Regions from separate parts of the Homo sapiens genome. Here region 1 is linked to region 2. Evidence: promoter capture Hi-C in human tissues and cell types (Jung and others, 2019). All regions are on one chromosome and are shown on one strand. The core of a region is centred on a gene start or on the middle of the fragment in contact, and the rest is flanking DNA. Distances in the headings are between cores, read along the strand shown. Region 1 has its middle 17 kb from the start of RGMB-AS1. Region 2 holds the start of RIOK2 (RIO kinase 2).

Region 1 (5,971 bases), core at 1,997-4,496, 1.6 Mb after region 2:
CCACGAGAGAATGGCTAGCACTGTGCTCCCCAAACTTTAATATATAGACAAATCATCCGAGGATCTTGTTAAAAACATATCCTGATTCAGTAGGTCTGGGGTAGGCCCTAAGAATCTGAATTCTTAAATAGCTTCCAGGTGATACCTTTGCTACTCGTTTAAGAACTAAACTTTGAGTAGCAAAGGGCTTAGCCCAAAGGTTCTCACAACATGCACCAGAATCACCTGGTGGCAGGAAGTTGGGGAGGGGCAGTTGTTAAAACACAGGTTGCTGGGCCCCATCCTCAGAGATTCTGATCCAGTAGATCTGGGATGAGGCCTGAGAATTTTCACCTCTAACAAATTCTCAGGTGATGCTGTTGCTGTTGGACCAGGGACCACACTGAAATCCACTGGACTAGTCGATTAGCAAAAACCACGTGAACTGTAGTCTTTCAAGTTTGGAGCACAGACTTTATAATTTTAACTTCCATTACCCAGGATGCTTTTCACCTATTTTCATTCTTCCCTGAATTCCATTTGGGCACACTGTTATTGTACATTCTCCTGAGGAAAATGCTAGCTAAAAGGAGTTTTATTTGGGGAAGGAGAAATGTGACAATAATAGGCCAGCAAATGTGCTTTGGATGAGGAAAGGGAAATGTATCTGAAACACTGAAGCTTCCCCTGATATGTCTTATCACTAAAAGCAGCTTAGGCTAAATTTTGAATTGTCTCTTTCTCATAGATTTTAGCTGTAGTGTGCAAACAGTTTTCCCATTTAACAAAAACTTTAATGTTCTGCATTATGTTTTCATTGTGTGTCTGCCTCTCTGATTTCTTGTTTGCTTTGTTCCAATGCATCTTTGTGTCTCTTTCTTGTGAACATGCTGCATAATGCAAACTAATAAAAATATATGCCTCCAAAGTGTGGAGAGTTGAGTGCCACAAATAGAAAATAAAGTGAATTGTTCTTCCAACATCAAGTGTTTCTCAGGAAGCATTTTTTTTTCTGAAGAATATTTTTCCCTCAGGCTGATTTGCATACCAGGAAAGTGACATATATATTATACTTCATCTGTTATATATATTTCCAAGGTGACATCACTTATTGTTTTCTTTGTATTATGGTAGGACAATTATTTAAATTGTTCTATTAATAAAATGTGTTTTAAGTAATGAACCAGGGCATCTCTATTTTCCCTATATAAATGTTTATTTACTCAATAAATAAGTTTCTGTTCATGTCTAGGACTTCAAAATAATATGTGATAAAATATCTATAAAGTAGATATTTTTAAAACTACCACACTTAGCAATTTTCTGTGCATCAGTTAAGAATTCATATGGTTATGATATAATCAAAACCTTTTTTAAAAACCCTAAAACAATTATGATACAATTCACCTCAAAATAGCATAGAATCTTATAGCTCTAAATTGTGGTATGACAATGGTAGCAGCAAACTTGTCAAATCAGATGAGAGAGTGCAGGATTAGAAAGCTCCAAGTGTTCTATCAATCACTTATTATTCCCAGAAAAAAAGGGACAATAATAGAAGATATACTGAGACAACATAACAGGATTTTTTTCTCCTATTTAATTTAAAATGTCAAATTAGTTTTTAAAACCCTCTCAATTAGAAATGTACTCTGAAGGATAACCAAAAAAAGTCCCTTTGAGCTGTATTTTATTGTTATTTTTAAGAAAATAGAAACCAAAGTTTTGGCTTGAAGACTTACCTAGAGTAAATCTATTCTGGCAGAAACCCAAACAGATACTAGAAGTTTCACATCAGAAAATGGGATTTGATTGACATCCCGCTTGAAATCCATCTTGATAGTTTAAGAAAATCATTGAGTTAACAGAGAGTGCCTTGCAAAAACAGTACAGAAAAACCAAGGAACATTCTGAGACTCAGATTCCATGAGATAAATGTTAGAAAGGTAAATTTTGGGCAATGAGTTCAAGATACATGGCTTCATTATTTCTTTATTGACTCACTGGGATTACCCAGTATTGACCAGCAGCAGGAGTCATAGCTGGAAATGCATTCCCAAAGTCACTAGGTTATGAGTATTGCAGGTGCATGCGATCTGTTTGTTTGTTTTTAAGTGAGTTTGTATTTGCGGGCAGCCCTTGGGGACAATTAGAATTTTGGCAGCTGAGAAGGCAAAATGACTAACAGGACTTGCAGCCAAAATAGCTTTACATAGAAATTCTTATGAAAGCCAATACTAAGTATACACAATTTCGTCTATGACTAAGATCCTAGAGATGGAAGAAACTAAAATTAAATTATTGGTTAGAATGACATTGCTATAAAAGAACATGGCATTTGGCCCCCCTGAAAAAAATCAAACCCCAAAAGTAATTATAAATGTAAGGTATCCTGACTGGGAGAAAATGCTACTTAGAGTTCCACAGAGGTCCTTTAGAACCCAGTATCATTCAACATTTTTATTAACAGCTTTGAGTGGAGATGTTAATACTAATCAAACTTATAAATGGTTAGAATTACAGTGTTTTAGAAAATTAAGATTAAAGTCGAATATAAGCATGAAAAGTTTGAGAAATGGGTGAAAAACGATAAAATGCAACATTCAATAAAGGAAAAATGTGAAGTGGTTTACACAGAAAATGGTGAGTACTACAAAACACTAACAAGAACAAAACACTGAAAAGTATGAGAAAAACGGAAAGTATCAATAATGTGTCACTAACACAAAAATGCTATATTTTATTCTTCATTTAAAATAGTATTTAATACATTGAGTGAATTTCATTTGCATCACTTTGCTTTAGGACAAGTGAAATTTGAAGTTCATTGTGGCAGAATTATGTAATAACAGATAGTCCAATTACATCATTCAGAAGAGAATAGAGGAATTAATAAAAGGTTAAGAAAGAAATACCTTCATGGCAAAAGTTATAGAAAGTTAGGCTGGGTGCGGTGGCTCACGCCTGTAATCCCAGCACTTTGGGAGGCCGAGGCGGACAGATCACGAGGTCAGGAGATCAAGACCATCCTGACTAACACGGTGAAACCCCGTCTCTACTAAAAATACAAAAAATTAGCCGGGCATGGTGGCAGGTGCCTGTGGTCCCAGCTACTCGGGAGGCTGAGGCAGGAGAATGGCGTGAACCTGGGAGGCGGAGCTGGCAGTGAGCCGAGATCACGCCATTGCACCCCAGCCTGGGCGACAGAGCGAGACTCCATCTCAAAAAAAAAAGAAAAGAAAGAAAGTTAATAGTCCAGAAAAAGAAAAGGCAGCAAAGGGGAAATTATAGAACTCTTGAGTAATACATAAATAGAAAGTAGTAGTAAGTGTAATGGTTAAAAGACTTTTTAGAGCTATACGTATGGGTTTGCATCTAATATGGTTTGGCTCTGTGACCCCACCCAAATCTCATTTTGTAGCTCCCATAATTGCCACATGTTGTGGGAGGGACCTGGTGGGAGATGATTGACTCAATCATGGGGGCGGGTCTTTCCTGTACTGTTCTCGTGATAGTGAATGGGTCTCACAAGAGCTGATGGTTTTAAAAGCAGTAGTTTCTCTGCACAAGCTCTCTCTCTTTGCCTGCTACCATCCATGTAAGATGTGACTTGCTCCTCCTTGCCTTCTGCCATGACTGTGAGGCCTCCCCAACCATGTGGAACTGTAAGTCCAATAAACCTCTTTCTTTTGTGAATTGCCCAGTCTTGGGTATGTTTTTATCAGCATTGTGAAAACTGACTAATATATATCCTACCTCTTCAACTTCTTACCATGCACAAAAAAATAAAGTCATGATTTAGTAAGTTTCCTCAATTCTCTAAATTTCCTTATCTGTAGAATATAGAAAATGAAGGTATCTAGGATTGGACAATTGTTGTGAGAATTAAGTGTGATAATACATTTAGTGCAGAGTTTGCATTGGTTTCTGGGTCTCATTTCCTTCATTAATTAATCAAATTTAGTTAAAATGATGCTTTTCTAAAGTCGAAGAGAGGCAATGCTAGAGTAGATCCCAAATAAGAGTGTTTTGTTTGTTTGTTGTTTATTTTTGTTTTTAATTTTCTTTCCAGAAAAACCAAAGGAAGGAGATCACCAAATATAGATTATTTTAAGACCAAGTTATCCTTTCCCTCAAAATAAAGGGAATGTTCTAACTCAGGTTCCCAAATTTGCAGACAAAGCTTGTTTATGATATTTTACCTTTCAGAAGTGCCTTTTGTCCTTGGAATATGGATTACTCTTACTCTATCTTCTGTGCCTTAAATTAAACTTCTCAACACATTCTTTCCTACCTAAACCCTGTATATTCTCATCTTTTCTCATTCCAAGATACATATAATCTGCAGTCTACTTTTTTTCCAGCCTCTTCCCTTAAAGGTCCACATTTCTTATCACTTCTCTGACCACTTTGATCAAACTTTGGCTTTCCTGGATGTCATATGAAATATGAGATATTCTATGAGGAGTGTTGAGAGGACTTTGGGAGAAATCTAGACCAAGAACCTGTAATGTTATAACTAAACACACCATTCCATGTATTTTATTGTATGTAGTTATCAAAAATATTTTCATGTAACTTTAAGAGAATTTACTAAAGAAAGGTATAATTTTCCTAATTTAATGTACATCTAAGTGTCTAAAAGGGAGAGAACACATCATATATGTAGATAGGTGTGAATATGAAGTCAATCATGGTAAGCGCCTTGCAGTCTTTCATGATTCATGAAGCCTGTCACTGAGATACAGGATATCTGGTGGCAGGTGAAGGCTCCAATTTTGTTGAAATAGATCGTTTAGTACTGTGAAGGCTGTTAAAAATGAAACTATTTATATAATAAAAAGAAAATAATTCATTGCCTACATCTGTCTGCTGAAATTTAATAAAAACTGGTTATTCAAATGACATATTTTTACATGCAATGTGAGAATTCAGGGATGGATGCAACAAACACAAAGAAATAATGGAGAAATTCTCACTAGGAGTTTGAACAAATCTTAAATTTAGTAAGTCCAAAATTAAACTCGTGCTTTTCCCCTGACAATGTTTAACTTTATCTTAGCCCTGTGCTCTCACTCGCTTGTGTTCAAATAAATGGGGAACCACAAAGAACCATCCCGCCCTTTAATATTCCAAGATAACCCATCTCTACCTTCCTTAATGACTCAGTTAAGAGCCCTCTCAACTCCTTCTCACCATTCTCAGAAGATAACCTGGTGACATTCTTGCCTATCTGCCCTTCATGCAAGGCCTCTTTTCTTATCTTTGAGATCATCCTAGTTAATGAACTATCTCCCTATTACAACAGACTTTATAAAACCATCCCCTTAATTGTCTGGTGCATTTTGTCTAGAAAAACCTATTTCAACTCTTAGTTGATGGCAAATCCAATTTTTTTTCTTTTTTTTCTTTTTTTTTTTTTTTGAGAGAGGGTCTTATTCTGTCTCCCAGGCTGGAGTGCAGTGGCACAGTCACAGCTCACTGCAGGCTCAACCTCCCTGGGCTCAGGTGATCCTCCCACCTCAGCTGCCCAAGTAGCTAGGAACACAGGTACACACCACCATGCCCACCTAATTTTTGTTTTTTGTGGGTTTTTTTTTTGTAGAGATGGGGTTTCACCATGTTGCAGAGGCTGGCCTTGAACTTCTGGCTCCACCTTGGCCTCCCAAAGTGCTAGGATTACAGGTATAAGCCATAGTGCCCAGTGGCAATTCCATCTTGATGGCAGCTCAAGCCAAAACCCTGGAAGTCATTCTTGACTCCTCTTTTTCTCAAGCATCCCCATCCAATCTACCAAGGAAGGAATCCTTTTGGTTTTAACCTCAAAATACATCCGGAATCCTATCACTTCTAACCAATTCCGTTGCTAACCCTATGGTTTGAGCCATTACCATCTCTTGCACAGATTATTTTAAAAACCACCCCACAGGCCTCTCAGCTTCCACTTTTGCCTGGCTATAGTATATTCTCAACAAAATTACATGAATGAACT
Region 2 (5,874 bases), core at 3,375-5,874:
GTACCTACGTGCTCTTCTGTACTCTACATGCTCTTCTGCAGTACTCTACCTGCTCTTCTGCAGTACTCTACCTGCTCTTCTGCAGTACCTACGTGCTCTTCTGCAGTACCTACGTGCTCTTCTGCAGTACTCTACATGCTCTTCTGCAGTACTCTACATGCTCTTCTGCAGTACTCTACGTGCTCTTCTGCAGTACCTACATGCTCTTCTGCAGTACCTACATGTTCTTACTACTATTCTTTTTTCACCTCCTTTGATCTGGGTGTGCCCTGTGATTATTTTGACTAATAGGATATGGCCGAAGTGTGTTCTGTCAGTTCTTCGTCTAATGCTTTACTAGTCTGGCAACTTCTACTTCTTGACTTTTGGAACACTTGCTCTGGTGGAAACCAATTACCTGAAAAATCACAAATGGTGCCTCAAAATACTTACTTTTGGTACGCTCCCAAGCTATGAGTTTATGTTTCACTAATTCTCTTAAAACTTTATTACAGCCACCATGTTTAAGGCTGGCTATAGAAGCAATCAAACTGCCGGGAACAATTTCATGGTTCTTCATGCCCATTTCAACCTGAAATTAAAGGAATCATTATATAATCATAATCAACACAAAGCCTTGTCTATCAAAACCCTGCGAAATTAACTTCTCCTTGAAGCTTTCCTGACTATGCAGTTCTCCAACTAATTCTGAGACATAATCACTTCCGTCTCTTGAAAATATTTTTAATTGCAATTTGAAATCTAATCATTGATATTTGTATTGGCTTTCCATTTCAAGAGTAGGAACTGTGAGTGCTAGACATACTGATGACATTTGGTCAATGCTAAAATACTTGATGACACCTAAACATTTGTCTTTAAAAACTACAGATATGCCAGATATTTATTAAGCAGGTATTTAATGAGAAAGTACTACATGTAGGCATCGTAGAGGATATATATATATATATGAATGATAGACTGGATAAAGAAAATGTGGCACATATACACCATGGAATACTATGCAGCCATAAAAAAGGATGAGTTCATGCCTTTTGCAGGGACATGGGTGAAGCTGGAAACCATCATTCTCAGAAAACTAACACAAGAGCAGAAAACCAAACACCACATTTTCTCACTCATAAGTGGGAGTTGAACAGTAAGAATACGTGGACACAGAAAGGGGAACATCACACACTGGGGCCTGTCGGGGGGTGGGGGGCTAGGGGAGGGATAGCATTAGGAGAAATACCTAATGTAGATGGGATGGGTTGATGGGTACAGCAAACCACTATAGCATGTGTATACCTATGTAACAAACCTGCACGTTCTGCACATGTACCCCAGAACTTAAAAGTATTTTATATATATATATAATATATATATATAAAATATATATATATTATATATATATAATATATATATAATATATATATTATATATATATTTTTAAATTTATTCCTCAGAGGTAAAAAGCACATATATATATATCTCTATCCTACATGCTCTTCTGCATGTGTATATGTATATATATATATATGTATATATATATATATATATGTGCTTTTTACCTCTGAGAAATTTTTATCTCATGATGGAAATTTTAAAAAATGGTATACATCTAAGTTTATTAGAAGTTAAGAAGTGATAAGTGCTTAAAAAGGTAGCTCAGGGCAGAATAAGAATACTTCTAGCTGAGGGATCAGTTCCAAGGAAGATGCAAAACTAGAGACTGACTTTTAAAAGATGTGGGCATACAGAGAAAACAGACAAGGGGATATTAGTGAAAGAAAAAGATTTGAAAATGGCACATATGCAAGAAAGTACTGACCACAGAGAATAGCTGAGTACAGTAGCAGCTCAGATGGGATAGCATATAGAATTCATGCAAACGCGGCTGGAAGATACTTCTAGGATAGAGAAGGCATTAAAATGTAGACCAAATACTTTTATATTTTATCCTGATGAGAGCAGGAAGCTCTTGAAGATGTTTAGGCGTGGGAGACACACGAACAGGGTTATTTTAAGGACATTAATGTACCAGGAATATGCAAATTGGCTTAGAGATGGCAAAATCTGAGGGGGTACTCCGGAGAACTAAGACAGAAGTCCAGCTCAGAGGAAAGAGCCACCAGAACAGGGTAAGTGGTAGTGGTACTGGAAGGAAGGAATAAAAATCTTTAGGAAGTATTATGGGAGAGCTTGGCAATTAGATGTGGAAGGGTAAAGGGAACGGAAAGCCACAATTGGAAGTGATGAGGAAAAGCAAGTTTTAAGATTTTATTATTTTTTTTTTTTATAGAGCTTGGGAAAAGAGAAAGGGGGTAGAAAAAAATTGAATTTGGTTTGAGCACTGAGAGTCAAATAAAAATGTTTAAAGGAAAACTGGAGGCCAGGTGCAGTGGCTCACACCTGTAATCCCAGCACTTTGGGAGGCCAAGGTGGGTGGATCACGAGGTCAAGAGATCGAGACCATTCTGGCCAACATGGTGAAACCCCATCTCTACTAAAAATACAAAAATTAGCTGGGCGTGGTGGTGTGCGCCTATAGTCCCAGCTACTTGGGAGGCTGAGGCAGGAGAATCGCTTGAACCCAGAAGGTGAAGGTTGCAGTGAGCTGAGATTGTGCCACTGCACTCCAGCCTGGCAACAGAATAAGACTCCGTCTCAAAAAAAAAAAAAAAAGAAAGAGAGAAAATTAAATAGGAAAGGGGCCTATATTTAGGAATGAAGTTATAATTAGAAGGAAAAATTGTCAATTATTTTATAGAAGTGAGAGTTGAAGATGTGAAGTGGATGCTATCACTGAGCAGGAGATAATGGAAGAAAAGGAATGTTTGGGAGCAGAATTCTGGGGCAAGTTCATATTGAAAGCTAAGGGCAGCTAGTCAAACAATGATTATTGATATAGGAGGAGCCAAAGAAGTAAAAGGGAAGAGAGGCCCAAGAAAGGGTACCAACACTGGTGAGATTCAACTGAGACCGGAATGTCATATTTAATGACTAAGTCATTTCTTGGTGAACTTTACAAATAATTTAAATATTGCAGCGCCAATGTTTTGGAAGATAAATCTGGCATCATTTTGATGTCTCACCAAAACCTTAACTTTTAAATTTAACTTATTTTCCATGCTTTGTCTCTGCCTCCCCCGTCCTCTAACACTCTTACTTTTGACCCCTACTTCTGTCAGAGACACTAAGGAATGAGTGTGCTGAGAAAGCAGGAAAGGAAGGTATCTTTCCGAAGTGATAGTAGGTTTTCATAGAGAAAGTCCAGCTGATTAGAAGAATCTACATGAGAGGCAAAGTAAACATTGTCTTCCAAATTTCACACTGATTTTGCATTTGATAGTTTAATACTTAAGCGCTATTTAAGATTAATTTTAAAAATCCAAAACTTGAAGCCTTAACATAATGCAAGAACCAGTGTGACTCACATCGCATATCCTATTACATAATTACACAATATAGGTAGTCCTTATCATGGGGTTCACTCCTTACCAAAAGATAACGGCTCCTAAATAAATGTACAAATGTCTTGATCTATATATTAATTTCTGTGCCATAAGACTGAGGCCATAAAATCAGATTTTGTTACTCCCCTGATTAAAAACATTTAGTGGTTACCCCCACATTCTTTACCAAACCTCCAAGGCTCTGTAGTACATAATTTCTCACCTTTTCCGCTACATCTCCAACCATTAGTGTGCATCTCACTTTGCTCCAGCCACATTACATTGGCCTTTCCTCTCTTCAAAGACTTTTCTGTCTCAAGGCCTTTGCACTTACTACTGCTGTTTCCTCTGCCTCCAACTCTTTCCAAGGACTTCACTGGGCTGTCTCTTTCTCACACAGCTCCTATTATTCCCCCATTCATTCTTTCATTTAGTGAATATTTATTGATTGTCTACCAAAGGCCAATAACTTGTGCCCCTCCTCTCCACCAGATACATATACTTTCTATGCCATTATCCTTTATCATTTTCATAGCATTTATCCATTATCCTATTTTTCGTTTACTTGATGATCTGTGTCTCTCTCTCCACTTGTCTGTTTGAACAAGTGAACCTCCTAATGTTGCTACTAAAAAACCGACAAATATGTGTTGACTGAATGAATCAGAAAGACTGCTATGCGACTGAGTCTGTTAGTAGGGAAGTCAATATTATCAAATCTCGGGGGGGGGGGGGGGCTTAAACCTTTCACAGCTGGTCGGAAGCTCAGGATCAGAGAAGTTTCCAGGCCACAGAGATGCAAGCGTTTCTCTTCAGCGCAAAGCGAATAGCAGCAGAAAAGAAAACAATTATTAGAAGACGGGACCTTTGCTCTATCTGGGGGAAGGTAAGCTCCCAAACAAAACCTTTTTAAAAATCCGACTTTCTGAATGCTCTCTTCTCCATTCCCAGCTTCTGCCACGTCCCGGGTCCCAGAGTGTGCCTGCTCAGATCCCAGAAAACTTGCAGGAACAGGAAGAGGTCACACAGTGTTAAGGGGAAGGGAGAACAGGAACGGCGGGTTTCTTACCGCGGTCAAGACCCTGAAGTCATCTCGGCTCATGTAACGCAACTTGGCCACATTCACTTTCCCCATGGCGGCCCCAGTCCGAACCCAGATGCCTCTCCGACGACAGCCGCAAAGCGTAAGGCAGGTCGTTATTCCAGCCTCTAAGCGCTTTACAGCGCCAGATGGCTCGCGCACGCGCTGCGTCTTAGTATAGGTCCTTGTTAATAGTTAGAAGTGCTGTTCTCATTGATATAGGAAAATAAAACTACTTGTATGTCTTATGAAACACATAGTATGTAACAAGTGAACGTTTTATTTTTGTGTAATTTTTGCGTTGTGACTGAGTTGGCGGAGTGTAGATATTCTCTACAATGTGCCTTTTTTTTTCCATATCTGTCAGGACTTGCTGCCTCAATGACACGTTCCGCCTCAGAGAGCAAAGTGGTTACTTAATGGGAGGAGCAAATTTTTCCCGCAAACAACTTCTACTCTAGGCAAAGTGACTTCCAACAAGACAGGGGTAAAAGAACCTGAGCTAGAGTCCAGACAACCAAATCTGTTAAAGGTAAAGTGGACTGTAATCACACAAGCACGCCCTCTACTCCTAATTGCGCCTGCTCCGGCAGCTCCGGAGGGCGTGGTTAATGGAACTCATGCGCTTGCTCAGTACTTCTCTTAGGTTGGTCTAGGAGGCTTCGAAGTGCGCCTGCGCTGGTTGGGGTGGGAGTTTAAGGTGACACGTGGAGAGCGCGGCGGACGTCCTTACCTCCAGAGGAAGTGGGGATTTTGATAGTTCGGGCTGACCTACGCGGGTAGGACTTCGAGGGCCCAGGAGCGATTTAAGGATTTTAGAATAGTTACCCATACTGGCTCTGCAACTCCTCGATATTCAAGCCTTTGTCTGCTTTTTACTTGAATGCAGCATGTCTTTGATTAACCATCTTCAACCAATGAACATCTCCATTTAAACGGAATTTTTCTTTCTGTACTTACATAAGAAGGCATAGAAATGAATTTTTTTTTTATTTTTGAGACAGAGCCCGGCTCTGTCACCCAGACTGAAGTACAGGGGCGCGATCTTGGCTCACTGCAACCTCTGCCCTCTAGGTTCAAGGGATTCTTCTCCCTCAGCCTCCTAAGTAGCTGGGATTATAGGCTCACACCACCACGCCCTGCTAATATTTTTATTTTTAGTAGAGATGGGGTTTCGCCCTGTTGACCAGACTGGTTTCAAACTCCTGGCCTCAGGTGATCCGCCCCCCTCAGTCTCCCAAAGTGCTGGGATTACAGGCATAAGCCACCGCGCCTGGGCGAAAAGTTTTTAAAAAAACCAAGTGACTAACTTTATTTGTACAAATTTATGGGGTACGTGAGAAATTTTGTTACAAGTAT

Evidence for each region. The method cuts DNA at HindIII sites, captures the fragments that hold promoters and counts their contacts. A contact is called where the count stands out against the background at its distance.
Region 1: a fragment that was not itself captured here is called in contact with the fragment with the promoter of RIOK2 in region 2 in 1 of the 25 tissues and cell types used here (dorsolateral prefrontal cortex).

Annotation. Positions count from the first base shown.
Region 1 is chr5:98,753,477-98,759,447 of GRCh38, forward strand. No RefSeq gene overlaps it. Among named protein-coding and RNA genes, the nearest start is that of RGMB-AS1, 17 kb to the right of the region's middle. The HindIII fragment of the contact is 6,037 bases long and covers 229-5,971 here.
Region 2 is chr5:97,178,623-97,184,496 of GRCh38, forward strand. It overlaps RIOK2 (RIO kinase 2), which reads right to left and starts at 4,625. Exons shown (of 10, transcript NM_018343.3): 1 at 4,504-4,625; 2 at 433-571. The coding sequence starts at 4,569. The HindIII fragment of the contact is 15,072 bases long and covers 8-5,874 here.